2 separate regions of the Homo sapiens genome follow, and region 2 is linked to region 1. The links are contacts of gene promoters, found by promoter capture Hi-C in human tissues and cell types (Jung and others, 2019). All regions are on one chromosome and are shown on one strand. The core of a region is centred on a gene start or on the middle of the fragment in contact, and the rest is flanking DNA. Distances in the headings are between cores, read along the strand shown. Region 1 holds the start of DMRTA2 (DMRT like family A2). Region 2 has its middle 5.8 kb from the start of MIR4421.

The links. The method cuts DNA at HindIII sites, captures the fragments that hold promoters and counts their contacts. A contact is called where the count stands out against the background at its distance.
Region 2: a fragment that was not itself captured here is called in contact with the fragment with the promoter of DMRTA2 in region 1 in 1 of the 25 tissues and cell types used here (dorsolateral prefrontal cortex).

The regions. Positions count from the first base shown.
Region 1 is chr1:50,421,301-50,427,168 of GRCh38, forward strand. It overlaps DMRTA2 (DMRT like family A2), which reads right to left and starts at 2,143. Exons shown (of 3, transcript NM_032110.3): 1 at 1,816-2,143; 2 at 1-244. The coding sequence starts at 236. LOC105378714 (a long non-coding RNA gene) reads left to right here and starts at 2,246. Exons shown (of 3, transcript XR_947325.3): 1 at 2,246-2,597; 2 at 3,138-3,301; 3 at 3,540-3,572. RefSeq lists enhancers at 1-438, 5,150-5,868 and a silencer at 3,266-3,325. The HindIII fragment of the contact is 21,358 bases long and covers 1-5,868 here.
Region 2 is chr1:51,051,381-51,056,625 of GRCh38, forward strand. No RefSeq gene overlaps it. Among named protein-coding and RNA genes, the nearest start is that of MIR4421, 5.8 kb to the right of the region's middle. The HindIII fragment of the contact is 5,033 bases long and covers 1,381-5,245 here.

The sequences.
Region 1 (5,868 bases), core at 893-3,392:
ACCACGCCATGGTTGCGACAGCGCGCGCACTTGGGGGTCCGCGGGTACTTCTCGGCTGCCCGCAGCAACAGTGGCGGCCCCCGCAGCAAGCCGCCTGCCACGCTCACCGGTAGCGATGCAGCGGCCGCCGCGGCTGCCGCCACCGACGCCACCGACGCCACAGGCGGCCCCGTCGCTGTTGCCGCCGCCGCCGTCGCCGCGCCGGGCACGCTGGGCAGCTCCGAGCGCAGCTCCATGACAGGACCTGACGGGAAAGAAGGTGGGAGAGGGGAGAGACCTGGTGAGGAGCACACCGCGCGCTAGGCCAAAGCGCCGCCTTGAGGAACCCAAGCTGGAGAGGGAAATTTGGGCCGCGGAGGCTGGGCTAGAGGGGCCAGAATTGCTGGGAGGAGGTGCAGTCGGAACCTCCTTGTGAGCCCTAGCACCTTCACCCCAGTCTGGCCATGGCTGCTCTTAGACCTGATATACACGCTAGGGGTAAGATTTTGTCTGAATTAGTGATTCCGCTGGAAAAAATAAAGAGACATGTAAAGTGTGAAAGTCACTGATTCAGATGGCTGTAATGAGAATTTGGAAAAGTTAAGATGATACCCCAAAGCTTAGCCTAATTGGGGTGAGACGGGTGAGAGAAATGCTCGTTTGACGGGACTGGGATTAGAGCGACAGTTTTGGCCCAGAAGTTAGGCTGATGCCAAGGGCAAAACAGGAAAACCCGGAGCAAAACGGTCAGTTTGGTGGAAGGGTGAAGAGGAGAGAGATGTGAAGGCGCAGATGTGAAGGCCGGTTGGGCCGGAGTTTTGTTTCTTTTTGTTTGTTTATTTTTAATGCAGTTTGGGGCAGAAGCTTTGGAGAGAAAAATCAACAACAGAAAGAATAGCTTTAGGAAGCAGAGTGAGGACGAGGAAACAACTTGGGCAAAGTTAGGCCCAGTGGCTCTGGGACCCGTAAAAATGTGAGCGCCAAAAGTTCCACGGTGAGGGCCTCCAGAGAGTGAGAGACAAAATGTATGTGGAATTTAGCTTAGGACTGGGAAGTATTAAAGAGAAAAATTCGGCCAAAGAAACTTTCTGTATAGGCAAACCCAGCCCAAAGATGAGCTTCATGGGCAAGGAAAACAGTGAAAAGCAGCTGATCTGGGTGTCCGGGATCCAGGGGCCGCGCCTGGGAGAGGGGAATGTGTAAGAAAAAACCCCACAGGCAAATGCTGGGGGAGGGGATTGGGTAAAACCTGTGGTGCAGTTTTTTAGCTTCGCAGTCTGGAGTAGTAGTCGGGGCGGAAGACGTATCCTGCGAAAAGTTAGGCATTTCGGGAGGGGGATCTTTCTCGAAGACCACCTCACACTGCCCTCCCCTCCCCTCCGGGTTTAGGGACAGAGTCGTCAGACACGCCCTCCCCGTCTTGGGGTCCCAGGGGACCCCTCTCGAGCGCAGGCTCCTGCGTTCTGATCTCAGAGTTGGGGTCCTAGGACACGGATGGCCCAGCAGGCCGCACCAAGCCAGGGGAGTCGCCTTCGCAACTGGCCATAAACGGACACCAGAGTCCCTCCCACGCCGCAGCCCCATAAGGCCCAAGCAGGCCCAGCTCCCCGCTTCTGCCGCGGTCTCCTCTGCTTCCCGCGTTCCCCGTCCCTGCCAGAGCCCGCGACAGAGTCCTTGTGTCTCCGTCCGAGAGTCCCAGACCTCCTCTCTATGAGCGTTGCCTCCTCTCCCAGACCCTTCGGGCGTCCCTAAGGCCCACGGGGCCCAGGCCTCCTCAACAGGGGCCGCAGACCAGGTCTCCACCCACTGCTCTCCCTGCGGCCCTCAACTACCTGCCTTGGGCTCCGGGATCCTCCTCCTCCGCTGGCGCTGCACGCGCCTCCCGGCTCCACTGGCGACGCTGGAGCTCTTGGCCGCTTCCCTTTGCCCCCGGCCCCTTATCTGACCACGTCACCCTCCTTCAGTCACCATGTCCGAACTTCCGGACCCCTCAGAACGCAGCGCAGTCCAACCCTCCCTTCAGAAATCCGGGTCGGAGGCTCGTCTGCGGGCCGCGTGGTTGGAACCCGCGACCTGACTCTCGCCGTGCCGGGTCCCCTCGCGGTGCGCGCCGGACGCTGCGCGCAGCCGGGGCCCAGTTGCCCGGCGCTGCCAGACTCTCAATGAGCCGCTCGCCCGCTCTATTGTTGGTCCTTAGGGCTCCATTAGACAGAATTGGACAACAATGTGGCGCCTGCCATTGGCCAGGGGAGGCAGACGGCGCTCTGATTGGCCGGGCCCGCGCCCGGGGAGCCCCGCATTCTGCAGTGTCCGAAAGATTCGAAACTCCAAAAGCTCCACTGCGTGCCTCTGGGAGGGGAGGGGGCGCGCCAGGAAAGGAGTGGAAAAAAGTGGGCGAGGAGGAGCGTTGAAAATTTCCTGACAAGTAGTTTCCGTGCGCCCGAGAGCGTGTGAATTGCTCCTAATTACCGTGTCCGGTGCGCCTCTCTGCGTAGACTTGTGTAACCTCTCGGCTTCTGGGGCGCCGGCTCGGCTGCACCGCTCTTACTGGCCTGGGGCGCTTGGCAAAGCCGAGCTTCCCAAGTGGCTCTGGAGCCCTGAGGCGGGATGGGGGGCAGGTGACAATTCAATTACTGCGGTCGGGGTAGGGGCGGGACAAGGGTGCGGGGGTGGGGAAGGGAGGGTGTTCAAGGCATAAATGCCAGGACGATTTTTCCTGCCTTCTTCCTGCTATGTTTCGGCGCGCTCCCAAATCCGACGAGTTTGGGGTAGTTGGGGGCTGCTTTGGTTTTTTCCTCCTGTCTCCTTAAAGCTCAGTTACTTTATTTTAAAAGTCCTGATACGATAGTCATCCTGGAGGGTAAGTGTGGTTTATGAAGATTTTCGTGTTTAAAGAGAAGCTCAGCGAAGAGAAATGAGATTGCACTTCCTGTCGGTGCCCGCCACGTCCCTCGCGCCCTGAGCCTTTCCTCTCCCCGCCCCTCTTTTCGCGTCCCTCAGCCCCTTTTGAGCTCTCTTTTCCTCACTTTTCAGCATCTCGATTTCTTTTCCGTGGTGGTGGGATTCTTTTTGTCGTTATTGCAAATGAACAAATAGCCCCCCCCCCTTTTTTTTTCTTTTCTAAACGAAAGTAAAAAGTGGCCTCTGTGTCTCCGCAGATTCTCTTAAACTCAGGACGCGCATCGGTCTGTCCGACCTTCCCGGCAAGAGACAAAGTCACTGCTGGGAGGCCCCCTCGGACAGTTTTCAGTTTTAACTTTCGCCTTATTCTCGTCTTGTCTTGATGTCACGGCCCTGAGGAACAGCTCGTTCTGCAGAAGAGGTAACAGGTTTCAGATTTTGTTTCCTTTTTGAAAGGCTGTTGCCTTTCAAACATCTGGAATTAATGCCGCGGCCCTCGGGCGAGTCGCCCTCGGTTTCTGTAGCTCTGATTTTATCTCTGTGTCTTTTCCCCTCTAATTTCTAAAGTTCTGTTTTTCCCTCTAATTCTGTTTTTCCCTCTAATTTCTAATGTTCTGTCACTCTCGTTTTTGTTCTCTACTTTTCTCTCTCTCCTTCAGAATAAAGAAAATTCGTTTAAATAATGAGGAAAATGAGCGTTCCTGTCGTTCTCCCTCCACTCTTGACCGTGCGTCTCTGCGTTGCTCTTTCGAACCTCCAGGCCGGCGGGAATCTGGGCGCGCAGACTCGGCCCGGGTCGTCGCGGCCTCAGGACGCAGCCCATTCCGCCTGGCACGACTACTGGGCCGCGTCTTGTCAGTCTATCAGCTTCTGAGCCCAGGAATGGGGGTGGGGGAAGGACGGTGCGACTAACGGGCCCCCACCCGAAGACCGCAGAACCTGGCGCCCCGGAAGAGCCCTGGAAGATGCCCACCGGGAGGCTGAGGCTGGAGGGAGGAGTGGGTGGGGGTGATTCGCTGGAGGACCGGGCGGAGAGCTTCCAGAAAGTTCACCAGGCCCCGGCGCGAGGGCGCTCCGACACGGACAAGGTCTATGATAGCGATAAAAAGCTGGTTACTCGCTCCCAGAAAATGCCACTTGCTGGAGTCTGTGAATGGGTTTAGGAGAGAGAAGGGTGTCAGCCCCCGCGAGGGTCTCCCGCGTGAAGTGAGGATAAGGGAGTGCTTCAGGGATAATATGTCCTCTAGGAGCGCAGGACCCAGACCCCACCTTCCAACACCTGGAGGTTCCGAGGCCAAGTATGTCTAGCCCCGGCTGCACCTGGGTAGGTGAGCCATGGGGTCGGGGGAAGAGCGCCGACAACCGCCGGATTCCGCGCAGGGGCCGCCAGGCGCCTGCTCCCAGAGCTCCTTTGGACAAAGTTTTCGGGAAATTCTATTAAACCGAAAACGAAATAAACTATACAAATCTGCCTAGCTTTTGAGGGGGCGGTGGCCCAGGTATCCTTCTCGCTTGAGGCCAGGTCACCGTGAGATTTCCCCACTCCGGACCGGGGATCCCGCAGAAGCCAAGGGTGTAGCCACGAGGACTCGGGAACCCGAGGCGGCCCAGCAGATGCGTGAGGAACTTCATTTTCTCAGGAGTGGGAGGAGGAGCATCCTGGCATCTAACACAGCCCAACCAGAGGGAATCCGCCCAACCCCTAGTGGCGGCATCTCACTCTTCTCTCGCTCCTCTTTTCTGGCATTCACATCCCCACAGGTCTGAGACCCACAGCCTTTTCTCCCACTCCCCGGAGGTTAGGGTGTTCATGTGAGTGAATGTGTTATGGAGGGAGGCAAAATAAACCCGTTATGGAGGGAGGGCAAATAAACCCAAGGTCATCTCACCCACACTTCGACAGGGCAGGATATCCTCTGCCCAGCTTCCCAGGCCGCTCCAGGGCCAGTTCCTCCTGATTTGGATTGGGTTGGTCGGAGGGGAAAGCAAGGGCATGGCCCAACTGAGCCACCAGCACTAGTAGAGCACGCCCAGGTTGAGGCAGCAGGGTCTACCCCCTTCCCAACCTGAGTGTAGCTTCACACTTGGACACACCCCCTCCCACGTGCGTGTGACCACTCTCTGCAAAGTTTGGGACACACTCTCACGCCAGCATTCAGAGAGCACCACCGGGCCCAGGCTCAACTCTGATGCTACCCTCCGGCTCAAGGGGACCCCTTCAGTGAGTTTGACCTCACAGTGTTCTTATAAGCATGTCCCCATCCTGGGCCATCCACTTGGTGTGTGACATTCCCAGACTCCCACAGATTTCCACCTCGGTGATAGCACACGCCGACAGGAGCACATTCTTACGCAGGTATGCCCTGGTTTATGCGCGGAGCTCCAGTCTTACTTCTACAGTTGGGCCCCGGGCAGAAAAAGCCAAAACCCTCCGGGACAAATGAGGCGGCTGAGAGCAGAGGGTCTTCCTCACACATCCACACGCGTACTCTTAGCTCAGAATCATTTGCTGACGCCTCTGCTGTGCCAGGGGCTGGGGGCCCGGGTGAGAGGGCCCAGCCAAGAAAATCCACCCCATCCCTATTCGCCCCCGGCCCCATCCCCCACGCCCACGCCCAGGAACTGGTGGCGTCCAAAGGGACTGCGTTGGGGTGAGGCCGGGGTTGAGGGCCTAGGGCGCAGAGCCGGCTGGAGACGCGGCGTGGGGAAGGGGGCCGAGGGTGAGTAGTGTAGCTCTGAGTAAAAGAGCCAGGGGCGCCGATGGGGGACCCGGGAGGCATTGACTTTTGCGCTGTTTGCCCGCGGCCTCGGAGCAAGCAGACGCCATCTGTTTGCCGGCTGCGACGCGTCCCGTTTAATTACCCTCCCGGCAGCCTAATAGAGATGATATTAAACTAAATCTTTCTGACATTAAAAGTAATTATCCCCAAACCGGTGGCTCCGGGACGGAATGGCCCCTCCCGCACCCACCCCTTCCCTGGCCGCGCC
Region 2 (5,245 bases), core at 2,647-5,146, 630 kb after region 1:
GAGAGTCAGGCTGCCCTTTGAAACTTTGAAGCCAGGCATTGACTTCTCTTTAGCTATCAAAGTCCTAGATGGCATCTTCTTCCAATAGAAGGCTATTTTGTGTACATTGAAAAATCTGTTCTTTAGAGTAGCCACCTTTATCAATTATCTTAGCTAGATCTTCTGGATAAAGGTTGCCGTAACTTCTACATCAGCACTTGCTGTTTCATCTTTAACTTTTATGCTATGGAGTTGGCTTCTTCCCTTAAACCTCATGAATTAACTTCTGCTAGCTTCAGACTTTTCTTCTCCAGCTTCCTCACCTCTCTCAGCCTTCACAGAATTGAAGAGAGTTAAGGCCTGGCTCTGAATTAGGCTTTGGCTTAATACAATATTGTGGCTGGTTTGATCTTCTATCTAGGCCACTAAACTTTCTCTCTGTCAACAATAAGTCTGTTTTGCTTTCTTATTATTCATATGTTCACTGGAGTAGCACTTTTAATATCCTTCAAGGATTTTTCCTTTGCATTCACAACTTTGCTGTTTGGTGCAAGAGTCCTAGCTTTCAGCATATCTCAGCCTTTGACATGCCTTCCTCATTAAGCTTAATTGCTTTTAGCTTTTGATTTAAGATGATAAATGTGCAACTCTTCCTTTCACTTGAACAATTAGAGGCCATTTTAGCATCATTAGTTGGCCTAATTTCAATATTCTTGTGTCTTGGGGAATAGACCCAAGCAGGGGGAGAGAGATGGGGGGAATGTCGGTTGGTGGGGTAGCAAAAACACACCCAATACTTATCAATTAAGTTCACTATCTCATATGGGTGCAGTTTGTGGTGCCCCAAAACAATTACAATAATAACATGAAAGATCACTGACCACAGATCGCCATAATAGATATAATAATAACAAAAAATTTTAAATATCAAAAGAATAACCAAAATGTGACAAAGACCCAAAAGTGAGCACATGCTCTTGGAAAAGTGACACCGATAGACTTGGTCAGTGCAGGGTTGCCACAAACCTTCAATTAATAAAAAATGCAGGATCTGTGAAGCACAAAAAAGCAAACTACAGTAAAATTAAGTATGCTCGTATCAGTTTTCCCCACATCACTTATGTAAGGGGCTATCCTTTCCCCATTGTGTGTTCTTGGCACCTCTGTCAAAGATCAGTTGACTGGGTTCTCTATTTTGTTCCATTCGTCTATATGTCTGTTTTTATGTCAGCAACATGCTGCTTTGATTAATGTCACTTTGTAATATATTTTGAAGTCAGGAAGTGTGATGCCTCTAGCTTCATTTTTCTTGCTCAAGATTGACTTGGCTATGTGGGGTCTATTGTGGTTCCATATAAATTTTAGCATAATTTTTTCTATTTCTATAAAGAATGCCAGTGGGATTTTGATAGAGATTGTACTGAATCTGTAGATCACTTTGAATAATGTGGCTTTTTTTTTTCTTTTTTTTTTGAGACAGAATTTCGCTCTTGTTGCCCAGGCTGGAGTGCAATGGCGTGATCTCAGCTCACCGCAACCTCCAGCTGCAGGGTTCAAGGGATTCTCCTGCCTCAGCCTCTCGAGTAGCTGGGATTACAGGCATGCACCACCATGCCTGGCTAATTTTGTATTTTTAGTAGACACGGGGTTTCTCCAAGTTGGTCAGGCTAGTCTCGAACTCCCCATCTCAGGTGATCCACCCACCTCAGCCTCCCAAAGTGCTGGGATTACAGGCATGAGCCTCTGTGCCTGGCCTAATGTTGACATTTTAAAAATATTGAATTTTCCAATCCATGAACATAGGATGTATTTCCATTCATCTGTGTCTTCTTCAGTTTCCTTCATCAATGTTTCATAATTTTCAGCATGCAAGTGTTTCTGTTTTGGTTAAGTTTGTAGCTATTGTAAATGGGATTGTTTTTTAAATTTCCTTTTCAGGTAGTTTTGCTGTTTGTGTGTTTTAGTATGTTGGTTATCCTGTAACTTTACTAAATTGGTTAGTTAGTTCCAACAGATTTTTTTCCTTTAGGGTTCTGTACATATTTGATTGTGTCATCTGCAAACAGAGATAATTTTACTTATTCTTTTACAATTTGGATGTTATTTTGGTCTAATTATTCTGGCAAGAACTTCCAGTAATATGTTGAACAGAAGTGTCAAGCATGAACATCCTTGCCTTGTATTGGATCTTGGGGGAAGCTTTCGACCTGTCCCCCAAGGTTTGATTGTGGTGTTAGGTTTGGGCTTTTCATATATGATCTTTGTTGTTTTGAGGTAAGTTCCTGCTATATTTATTTTGTTGTAGCTTTAATCATGAATGGATGGCAAATTTTGTCAAATGTTTTTTTCTGCATCTATTGAGAAGATCATGTGGTTTTTTCTTTCATTTTGTTAATGTGCTGTATCTCATTGGTTGATTTGCATATAGTGAACCATCCTTAACTCCCAAGGATAAACTCAAGTTGGTCATAGTATATGATCCCTTTAATGAGCAACTGAATTCAGTTTGCTAGCATTTCATTGAGGACTTTTGCATGTATATTCATTGGGACTATTGCTCTTTAGTTTTCTTTCTTTCTTTTTCTTTTGTATAGTGTTTTTGTCTGGTTTTGGTGTCAGGATGATGCTGGCCTCATAGAATGAATTTGGAAGTATTCCTTATCTTTTTGGGAAGAGTTTAAGGAGAAAGGGTATTAATTATTTTACAAATGTTTCATACAATTCACCCAGGAGGCCATCTGATTCTGGGCTTTTCTTTGCTGGAAGGCTTTGATTATTGATTCAATGTTCTTACTTGTTATTGGTTTCTTCAGGCTTTCTATATTTTCTTAATTCAGGGTATATGGTTCTAATCTTCTAAGTTATAGTTTATTGGCATATAATTAAATTGTTCATAATAGTCCCTTATGATTCTTTTTTTTTTTTTTTTTTTGAGACAGTCCCACTCCATCACCAAGGTTGGAATGCAGTGGCATGATCTCAGCTCACTGCAGCCTCCACCTCCTGGGTTCAAGCAATTCTCATGCCTCAGCCTCCCAAGTAGCTGGGATTACAGGCATGTGCCATCACACTCGGCTAATTTGTGTATTTTTAGTAGAGATGGGGTTTCACCATGTTGGCCAGGCTGGTCTCGAACTCCTGACCTCAAGTGATCCACCCTCCCTGGCCTCCCAAAGTGCTGGGATTATAGGCGTAAGCCACTATGCTCAGCCGATTCTTTTTATTTCTGAGGCACTCTTTGCAATGCGTCCTCTCTTATTTCTGGTTTATTTGAGTTTTTTTTCTTTTTTCTCAGTCTAGCAAAGACTGAGATTTTTTGTTGATTTTTTGTTTTCAAAAAACCAACTCTTAGTCTTATGGAATCTTTTCTCTTGCTTATAAAATTCTCTATTTGAGGCCAGGCCTAGTGGCTCATGCCTGTAATCCCAGCAGGAATCAATTCCTGAGGTCAGGAGTTCGAGACCAGCCTGACCAACATGGTGAAACCCCGTCTCTTACTAAGAATACAAAAATTAGCCGGGCATGCTGGTGGGCACCTGTAATCCCAACTACTCAGGAGGCTCAGGCACGAGAATCACTTGAACCCGGGATCATGCCACTGCACTCCAGCCTGTGTGACACAGTGAGACTCTGTCTCAAAAAAATAAACAAATAAATAAATATATTCTCTATTTCTTCTTTGATCTTTATTAATTCCTTTATTCCACTAATTTGGGGCTTAGTTTGCTCTTTTTCTAGTTCTTTGAGGTGTAATATCTTATTTGAGATCTTTCTCCTTCCTCCCTTCCTCCCTCCCTCTCTCCCCTCCCTCCCTCCCTCCCTTCTTTCTTTCTCTTCCTTCCTTCCTTCCTTTCTTTCTTTCTTTCTTTTCTTTCTTTCTTTCTTTTTCTTTCTATTTCTTTCTTTTTGAGACTGAGTCATGCTCTGTCACCCAGGCTGGAGTGCAGTGGCATGATCTTGGCTCACTGCAACCTCTACCTCCCAGGTTCAAGTGATCTCCTGCCTCAGCCTCCCACGTAGCTGGGATTACAGGCACGCACCACCATGCTTGGCTAATTTTTTGTATTTTTAGTAGAGATGAGATTTTGCCATGTTGGCCAGGCTGGTCTCAAACTCCTGACCTCAAGTGATCCTCCCACCTCGGCCTCCCAAAGTGCTGGGATTACAGGCATGAGCCACTGTGCCCGGCCTTCTTTCTTCTTTTAATGTAGGCATTTATCACTATATACTTCCCTTTTAGTACTGCTTTTGCTGCACCCTATAAATTTTGGTATGTTCTACTGTTTTTCTCTTTTTTTTCCCTTTCTTTCTCTCTTTCTTTTCTTTCTTTCTTTTTTTTTTTTTTTTTTTTTTTCTTTGCCCAGGCTAGCCTCAAACTCTTGGTCTCAAGCAATTTTCCCATCTTGGCCTCCCAAAGCAGTGGGATTATAGATGTGAGCCATCATTTCTAGCCTCAAGATACTCTTAAAATTACCCGTTGATTTCCTCTTTGACCCAAGAGTTGTTCAAGAGTTTGTTGTTGAGTTTCTATGTGTTTGTGATTTTTCCTATTTTCTTAAGATTATTGATTTCTACTTTCATCCCTTGTGGTCCAGAAAGATACTTGGAATAATTCCAATCTTCTTAAATTAGGTCACTTGTTTTGTAATCTAACATATGATCTATCCTGGAGAATGTTCCATGTATGCTTGAGAAAAGTGGATAATCTTCTGTTGTTGGGTGCAAATTTCTTTATATATCTGTTAGGATCATTTGTTTTATAGTGTTTTCTGTTTCTTTTTTGATATTCTGTACATTATTATAAGTGGAGTATTGAAATCCTCTACTATTATCATGTTACTGTCAAATTCTGCCTTCAGATCTGTCAACATTTGCTTTATATATTTAGATGCTCTTTGTTCAGTATATACATATTTATAATTGTTACATAATCATGTTGAAATGATCTTTTTATAATTATATCAAGACTTTGTCTCTGCAGGCAGCTTTAAACTAAAATCTGTTTTGTCTAACATAAGTATAGTTACCCTGCGTATCCTTGGTTACCATTTGCGTGAGAAATCTTTTCTCATCTCTTCACTTTTAGTCTATATGTGTCTTTAACTCTAAAATCAGTCTCTTATAAACAACATACCATTGGATCCTGTTCTTTCAAATTACACAGCCACTCTATGCCTTTTAATTGGTGAGTTTAATCCATTTACATTTAAAGTAATTAGTGATAGCTGAGGACTACTATTGCCATTCTGTTAACTGGTTTGTGTCT